2 separate regions of the Homo sapiens genome follow, and region 2 is linked to region 1. Evidence: promoter capture Hi-C in 16 types of primary human blood cells and fetal thymus (Javierre and others, 2016). All regions are on one chromosome and are shown on one strand. The core of a region is centred on a gene start or on the middle of the fragment in contact, and the rest is flanking DNA. Distances in the headings are between cores, read along the strand shown.

Region 1 (4,103 bases), core at 583-3,082:
GAAGTCAGTAGTGTGAAAACTGGATCCCTATATGACAATTTTCAGGTAAAAAGAAAAAAGCATCAAGGAATTAAGAGTCGTACTGAGGGCTTCTTATTCTTCTAACTGATGATGATGATTTTTAGACAGGAGATATACGGACCTCGTATTGACTCTACTCCTAACTACGAACATGACCCAAGGACAATTACTTGAACTTTGGGAACCTCAGTTTTCTTATCTATAAGTGGAATTTACAAGGGGAAGATATGAGGATTGAAGGAGATAATGTATATGAAGTGCCTATGGAGCCGGGCACAGCACTTCACAACTGTAATCTCGGCATTTTGGGAGGCTGAGAAGGGAAGATCGCTTGAGCTTAGGAGTTTGAGACCAGCTTGGGCAATATGGTGAAACCCTGTCCCTACAAATAAAAAATTAAAAAATTAGCTGGACATGGTGGTGCCCGCCTGTAGTCCCAGGTACTTTGGAGGCTGAGTTGGGAGGATGGCTTTAGCCCACGGGGTTGAGGCTGCAGTGAGCCAAGATCGCACCACTGCACCCCAGCCTGGGTGACAGAGTGAGACCGTGTGTTAAAAAAACAAATAAATAAAGGGCCTATCAGTGTTTGGCTAATATTGTGATTAAGAATAAATCAGAGTTCCAATAAACTATTATTTCTAGAAAAAAAATAGTGAAAAAAATCACCTTAAAAATACCTTCCAAATTTTTTTCCCATTTACTTATTTGAAAACAGAATCTATTCAGGACAAAATTCTATCTTCAAGTACCAAATGGGTGATACAGTTCGCATTTATCCAAAAGCAGATTAAAGACAATGCCTTTTCTTGCCTACCTACTTGGAAAAGATCTCAGTGTCACTCAAATCACATTCCAAATCTCAACGACATTAAGGCCTCAAATCCTCTTAGGAAAGGTTTGAAGGTAGTTCATTTCAGTAATGATTAGACACTTGGGGACAAAACAGTACCTTGGCATCAAGGTCTGTACTGATTCACCAGCACAGAAATAGCAGTAACAAGATCTTCAACTCTGAGGTGTTCAAATAAGCAGACAAACTCCCTCGTGAGGCCCAGGCCTCTTGACATCCGGACTCAGTCTTTCTTTCTCAGATCGCCAAGGGTCTGGCCCATTTCTCAGCCTAAACCTATTTTGCGTTTAATTCAAACCAGTCAAAGTAACTTAACCGCCAGCAGTTAAAAAGCTACTAGGAGGAAGCGTAGGCAGGAGATGGGAGAGGAAAAGGCTCCTGTCAGGGTTTGGGCTTATGTGTGGATTCTTGAATTCTCCTTCTTTGTTCCTTTTAGCACTTACGATCAAGAACGGCTAGGCTGAGGGGGCAGGGGGGCCAGGCCACTGGAGCGAAACGGCCTCTCCGGATCTGGAGGCGTGGGAACCTCGGGAATAGTGGGGAGTTCCAGACCAGTTCCCTTCCCCCATCTGAACAAGTCCAGAGCGTGCGCCTTGAGAGGCGCTCGGAAACAGGGAAGCTGGGGACACGTAGCGAGAGACTGGTTGTCGCCCTGGCTGTCCGTCTTAGACCTAGCTTAGCGACCACCGCCTTCAATCCCTCAGCCCGGATCAGACGGTGCCAAAAGACAGCACTGCTTCCCAGCCTGGCCCAACGGCTCGGCTGCTGATTGGGCACCGCCGCCTCCCGCCCCGCCTCCCCTGCCACCTCGGGCGCCGCTGCACGTTTCCACTGGTCTTCAGCCCTGCCGATCAGTTTACTGCTCACCTCCCCCAAACAGCTCGTCAGGCCGGCGCGTGCTAGGAAGGCGGGGCCTGTGGCCTGTGGGGCGGAGCCTCGGTGGAGGTCGGCGCAGCTGCCCCTTTGGGCTTTGGCTCTGGACTGGAGCGCAGCATCCTTCGAGGCTGCAGCCGCCACGGCTGTTGCCGTAAGCAATCCTCCTGCCTCAGCCTCCCGAGTAGCTGGGACTCGGGACCAGCCTCCCGAGTATTGGTCAGGTAAAGAGAGTCTTGTCTGTTCTGCTGGCCATCTGCCCGTCTCTTCTTCCCGACCAAAGGCTGCCTGCTCCGCCTTCCCCCGTGGCTTTCAGGGTTCTTGGAATGAGGCATCAAGTCTATTTACCCCGCCAGCTTATCTTCCTCCCCTTCTGTGTCGGTTCCTCCAGCTCCCCCACCAAGCTGCTCCCAAGTACGTTGGTGGGCCCTCCGGGTCATCCCAACGCTCCTCACTACAGAACTCCTGTCGTTGACTCTCAGGTCCCAGCCCCCTTGACCCGCCAGTGCAGTCTCATTCCCAGCTTGGCACAGGAAAGGTGGAGGGCGGGAGGGCGGGAGGGCGGGGGACGGAGAGATGCAGAGCTTTTTTTTTTTTTTTTTTTTTTTTTTGAAGCTGGATGTGTTTAGCGCAGAGGGGGAGCACCACAATGGGATTGCATTGGGAACAGAAGCAGCTTCATGACTATGGTTGGCAATGACTAGAAAGGTATCTGTTGCTGCTTTTTGCTTGTGTTTATAGATGACATTTACCATCACCGTTTTCTTCTTCTTTCATCATCATCATCATCACCATTGCCACTACCACCACCTCCAAGGCCACTACCACCACAGCATCTCTGTTCCTCCATCAGAGCTCTTCAAGTTCTGTAAAGGCAGATTCTCTAAAGGCATGTAAGTGCTGACGGATCCCCCAACCCCCTCCCCCACCACCAAATAACGAACAGTGCTCTTGCCCCCTGAGGCCAGAGCCAAGCCCTCATTTAACTCAAGAACAAGTAGCTGGGAGCAGAGTGTGAGCTGGGAGGATTTTCCTTATCCTCATTTGCAATTGAGATTGCCAAAGAAAACCCTTTATTTTAATCATCCACATTTCTGCTTGCTGTCTCCTGGAGAGTTCCATGTTAGCACTCACACACTCCGAATGGGCTGAATGCAGAGCCTGAACCTGTGATATATATGGGGAGTGGCAGTCACTGAGAGGTGAATGTCCAGACCCAATCCTTTAAGAAGACCAGGTGGAGTAGCAGACAACCTGACTTTCTGCTACAGTAGCTCCAGCTGTACTAAAGCATGTTTACTATTCATGTTTGCATATGGGACATGTGCCATCATCTGCTATGCCCCCTTGCGTGTGTATTGGCAGGGGGGCGGAGGGGCGCATCTAAATTCCTAGGAGAGAGAATTATATTCTGTTCTCTACACCAGGTAGCATCTTATAGGCACACCAATGGGATTCAACAGCCGTTGCTTAGCTGTTTCTAGGGCTTACTGCAAATCTCTTGGATCACAGACTTATTAACCCTTTTTTGGGAGGGAAAACAGTATAGCTGAGAATTGCATACCAGATTAACTGTCGTTGTGGAAGATGTTGCTTCCACAATGAATCAATGAGGTCTCGGGTCTTCTTGATCAGATATCTAAACACTAGTCTCCTTTCTCTCAACTGTGTTACAGTCCAGGAGCAGGACCAATGAATAGTTAGACATATTGCAGGAACAAAGAAGCAATGGCCTCAATGGAGGGAAACAATGGAGAAGAGTAGTGAGACAGTATATTGTAATGGCTAAACTCATAAACCTGTCAGACATAGGTTCAAATCCTGGACCAGCCACTGACTAGCTCAGTGATTTTTGCAAGTTGCTTGCCTCTTTAATTTTAATTTCTCGTCTGTAAAATAGGGATAATACTACCTGTCTCTTAGGAGAAGGTGTGAGGATTAAACGAGATAATATAGGTAAAATACTCAGTAGTTTCTGGCACATAAGTGGGGAATTTATAGTAACTGCTATTAATAATACTAGTCAAGAAGGATAATAAAGGCCAGTCTCGTTCCTAAAAATTATGCATTTTTTTCCATTGTCTTTATCCTTTTTAGGTGTCAGAGCTGATGCAAATGGGGTATGGTAGTCTTCAGGTTCCTTATAGCACTACATCTTAGAGGGGTGCCACTATTGAAGCCACCTGTGTTTGGACAGGCATTTCTCTCACCAGCCTTCACAAGTACTTAGCCGATTCTTAGTTGAGATACGTTAAAGATGCAGCTTTAGAGAAGATTTCCAGGCCTCTGGCCCTATTCTAGACTGCTTCTTTCTCACTGAGTGTTCAATGCATTGACTGTGATTGATGAAGCCTTTGTC
Region 2 (4,103 bases), core at 569-3,068, 510 kb after region 1:
GCAGAGACTCACTGGCTGTTCACCAAACCCACTTCCCTTTCCTCCTTAGCACCCAGCTAGACTAATTTCCCAGCCTTGCTTTGCAATCACGTGGAGTCATTTGCCTGAGTGGAGGCCAACAGAATGTGGGCACAAGTAATGTATTCCATTCCCAGGCCTGGAATTGAAATACATCACCTAAAAGCATAAAAACCTCTCATACCATGCTCCACTTCTCCTCATTCCCCACCCCCATCTCCTGGTCAGCTTGTTACATGTTGCCAGGGCAACTGTGGGGGTCAAGTGTAAAGATGGCAGTCTGGGGTGCCGAACCATCCACCGCACTACAGCCTCACGCGCCTCTGGCAGGACTTCACACGGGTGAAAAATAAACTTCTATTGCGTTGAGCCATACAATGTTTTTATTTGTTACAAGAGCAAGTGTTTCCTTAGGTAACATACTTCTGTTGCACATGACCCACTCTGTTTTCTCCTGAGCAAGCAGTTTAGAAACTACTTTGGCTTCTTGGAGAAAGTACATTACACAACAACAACAATCTCCACACAGCACTTGATGTTGTGTTTTATTGTGATAACAGCTTAAGCTTTGGAGTCAGACAAGAGCAGAGCTCAAGGATCAAATCCCAGCTCCTAAGATATAGATAGGCTTAGTTCCTTTGGAAAGTTAACTTGGTCTCTCCAAGTTTGTTCATGTATGTGTGAGATGCAAATAATCAAATACTTACCTACGGGATTGCTGTGAGGAATAGAGATGATTACATTTAGAACACCCGGCACATAATAGGTTTGCAATATGTTTTAGTTCCCTTCCCATTATCTCCCTTTGACTGACAGTTTATACTATGACTGCCCTTTGAAATCAAGCAAGTTTTCCATTGAAACCAAAGAAAGAAGGCTATCTCTCTCAGATGCTGCTTTTATGTAAATTCTATTATTACTAGGCATGATGCTCTAAAAATGAGTCATTTTTCCCATGTCTAATATATTTTAGACAACAGCAATAAAAAGGGGGACAGAGGAGGGATTGTGAATTTTGTGCAGGGTTAGGGGGAAGAAGGAGGGTCTCATTTGAAAGACATAATGAGACATCAAAGTCAATGCTGAAAGGGGGGCCATTTACAATTAGCCAGGTTGTCTAGTTCTTGACACTGCTCTTAAGCTTTCAGTACACAGTCTCTCAGCTCTTAGCAGTATACAGCTAGTGTGGAAGTCATCAGCATTCTGAACAAATCCCTAATGCGGCTCTCCACTTTTCAGTGAGCTATTTATCTAACTTACACAATATATAGCAATTAACATGTAGGAAAATATACCAATTCAAGAGAGTTCAGGCAATCTGCATATGGCACCTTTATAACCTTTCATAATTGTTTCTGGTGTACCTCTGAGTGGGCCCTGACTGAGATGCAGATAAAGCCTGCTCTGGGAACCGAAGGTGTCTCCGGGCTTAAAAATGTGCCCTAGAATTCACATCCTATCTCTGAGGCTGAGATGGACTCTTTGAGCTCTGCTGCTCTATCCAGGGTGAGTGGGCCATGATTCAGAGGACAGCATGGCATGAAAGGAGAAATCAAGGTTTTATTCTTGGATTGCTCAACTGTGCTGTGTTGTGTCATAATTCAAGCAATTCCTCACAAATAATGGCTAAATTTAGCAAGCGATTTCATTCTTGGAATGCAGATTGTGGCAGAACAAAGAATGAGGGAATATGTTAGTTTCATGGAAGAACAGCAAAGGAAATGGCAGACAACCTGTGACAAGAAAGTGTCTGGATTTGGGATTTTGTCCAATTCTACCAGGCCAGCTTGATTGCTGTCCTCTCAGAGCTCCTAAGTGCACAGACTAGAGCTTGATTCCACAGGTCTGTATGATTTTGTGTTTTTATTGTTTTTGTTTTCAGACAAGCTAGAACTACACTGTATGCTCTTTGGAGGCATTGCCTATGTCTTCCTTCCATAGGTGAAGACATTAAGGCTCAAGAAAGTGAAAGTGGCATACTACAGTCAACACTAGAGGTCAGATCTCTTGGCTCAAACTCTGGACCTCTTTCCATTCTCCTATAATATTCTCTAAGTTCAGTGTGCACTAGAACCATGAGGAGGACTGGTTGCAACAAATTCCTGGGTCCCACCCCCAGAATCTTCTGATTCAATAGGTTGAATCAGGGTAGGGACTGAGAAGTTGCATTTTTAGCAAGTTTTCAGGTGCTGCTGCTGCTGGTGGTCCTGGAATCACACTTTAAGAACCACTGCACTGTACCACATCCAATGGACTTAACAATGGAGACTGTCGCTCTCTAAACTCTGAACTAGTCTTTCTTCCTACCCATCCAAAACCCTACAAACAAGTAGAAGGTGGCTGAAATGATTAGAGCCAGGCAGGGATTCAGGTTTTCCTGCCTTCCTGGCCCAGCAGCCACACATTGGCTTGGTCACATCCAACTACTTTGGTTGTTCTGCCTCAAGATGGAAGCTTTGTGCCCCACGGAAAACAGAGGCCTCATCCTAAATGAAAGGAGGAGCATATTTTCTAAGACAGTCTCTTTCAGAGACAGCCTGCATTGTGTTTAAGAAAAGCTGATGTCAGACTAGTTATGGGTATCATAAGAAAAAAAAGTCTCGGTGTGGTAGCTCACACCCATAATCCCAGCACCTTGGAAGGCCAAGGTGGGAGGATCGTTTGAGCTCTGAAGTTTGAGTTTAGCCTGGGCAACATAATGAGACCCCACCTCTACAAAAAATTTAAAAATTAGCTGGGCATGGTGGCACACACCTGTTGTCCCAGCTACTTGGAAGGCTGAGGCACAGAATTACTATAATTGTGCCACTACACTCCCACCTGGGCAACAAAGTAAGACCCTATCTCAAAAAAAAAAAAAAGAAAAAGAAAAAGAAAAAAAGTTGAGTAGTCAATGTTATCACAATTTTCAGAGCAAGGCAGTATGTCCTGGTGGTTGAGTACACAGTCCTTAATCAGGTAGACTTGGGTTTGAGTCTTGGTTCAGCTACTTGTTACCTGGATAACCTTATGCAAGCTACTCTCTAAGCTTCTGTTTTCTTAATATAAAGTAGAAATAATATTAGATTGGTGCAAAAGTATTGCAGTTTTTCCTATTGAAAGCAATAGTAAAAAGTGCAATTACTTTTGCACCAACCTGATAAATACCAACTATTATTATTATTAGGCTTGCAGGAAAAGACTACTCTGGTGCTAGAAGCTAACACAAGCCCAAGGTAAGAGGTGCATTATTTACTAGGGGCAGCAAAGCTAATTATAATCAGGATGACATTTAAAGAGTCCTTACTCTGTGCTAGGTGCTGTGCTAAAATGCTTTACATGGATAATTTTATTTAATTCCCACAATGACCTCCATTTTGCAAATAAGGAAATTGAGGTACGAAGTGGTTAATTAACTTGTTTAAGGTCACACAGGTTGACCTGGAGTTTGAACTCAGGTAGTCAGAGTCTAGAGCCACTACTCTTAACCACCAAGGTCAGCTGCTCAAAGCCGGATGTAAGTGAAGCCCACTCACCATTCTCTATGGCATTAGTGGGTAGGAAAGTGGGTGGGATGCATGAACAACATGGAAAATTTCAACCTTCTTCCTTAACCAGCTTCTTCCTGAACCTCTTCTCTCCCATGCCACCTCCTGGCCCCCAAATAAACAGGATTTTAGGATAGATGCTAACTCGGTGTTGATGCATGACACTGTTAGAATGTTGACTGTCATGATCAACGAGGAGAACAAACAGGCATGGATAATCCACAAACTAACTAGTTCCAAAGACATTAAAACTCAGCAGAAGTTGTATCATGGAAAAGGAAAAAAAAGTGTTTCCCCTTTCATTAAAAGAGTAGCAAGTGCAGGCCGGGCGCAGTGGCTCACGACTGTAATCCCAGCACTTTGGGAGGCCGAGGAGGGTGGATCATGAGGTCAGGAGATTGAGACCATCCTGGCTAACACGCTGAATCCCCGTCTCTACTAAAAATACAAAAAAAAATTAGCCAGGAGTGGTGGCAGGCGCCTGTAGTCCCAGGTACTCGGGAGGCTGAGGCAGGAGAATGGCATGAACCTGGGAGGCGGAGCGTGCAGTGCACCAAG

Evidence for each region. Contacts are between HindIII fragments. The CHiCAGO score rates a contact against its expected background, and 5 or more counts as called.
Region 2: a contact is called between a fragment that was not itself captured here and the fragment with the promoter of FMN1 in region 1, in 3 of 17 cell types (M0 macrophages, monocytes and M1 macrophages). The highest score is 6.3, in M0 macrophages.

The regions. Positions count from the first base shown.
Region 1 is chr15:33,192,443-33,196,545 of GRCh38, reverse strand. FMN1 (formin 1) reads left to right here and starts at 1,832. Exons shown (of 21, transcript NM_001277313.2): 1 at 1,832-1,968; 2 at 2,486-2,637. LOC105370759 (a long non-coding RNA gene) reads right to left here and starts at 1,635. Exons shown (of 3, transcript XR_932090.3): 1 at 971-1,635. RefSeq lists silencers at 1,530-1,739, 1,514-1,853. The HindIII fragment of the contact is 5,074 bases long and covers 1-4,103 here.
Region 2 is chr15:32,680,262-32,684,364 of GRCh38, reverse strand. All of the region lies in intron 11 of ARHGAP11A-SCG5 (ARHGAP11A-SCG5 readthrough), which reads right to left. The region is part of intron 3 of SCG5 (secretogranin V); the gene reads right to left. Among named protein-coding and RNA genes, the nearest start is that of SCG5-AS1, 9.2 kb to the right of the region's middle. The HindIII fragment of the contact is 1,313 bases long and covers 1,162-2,474 here.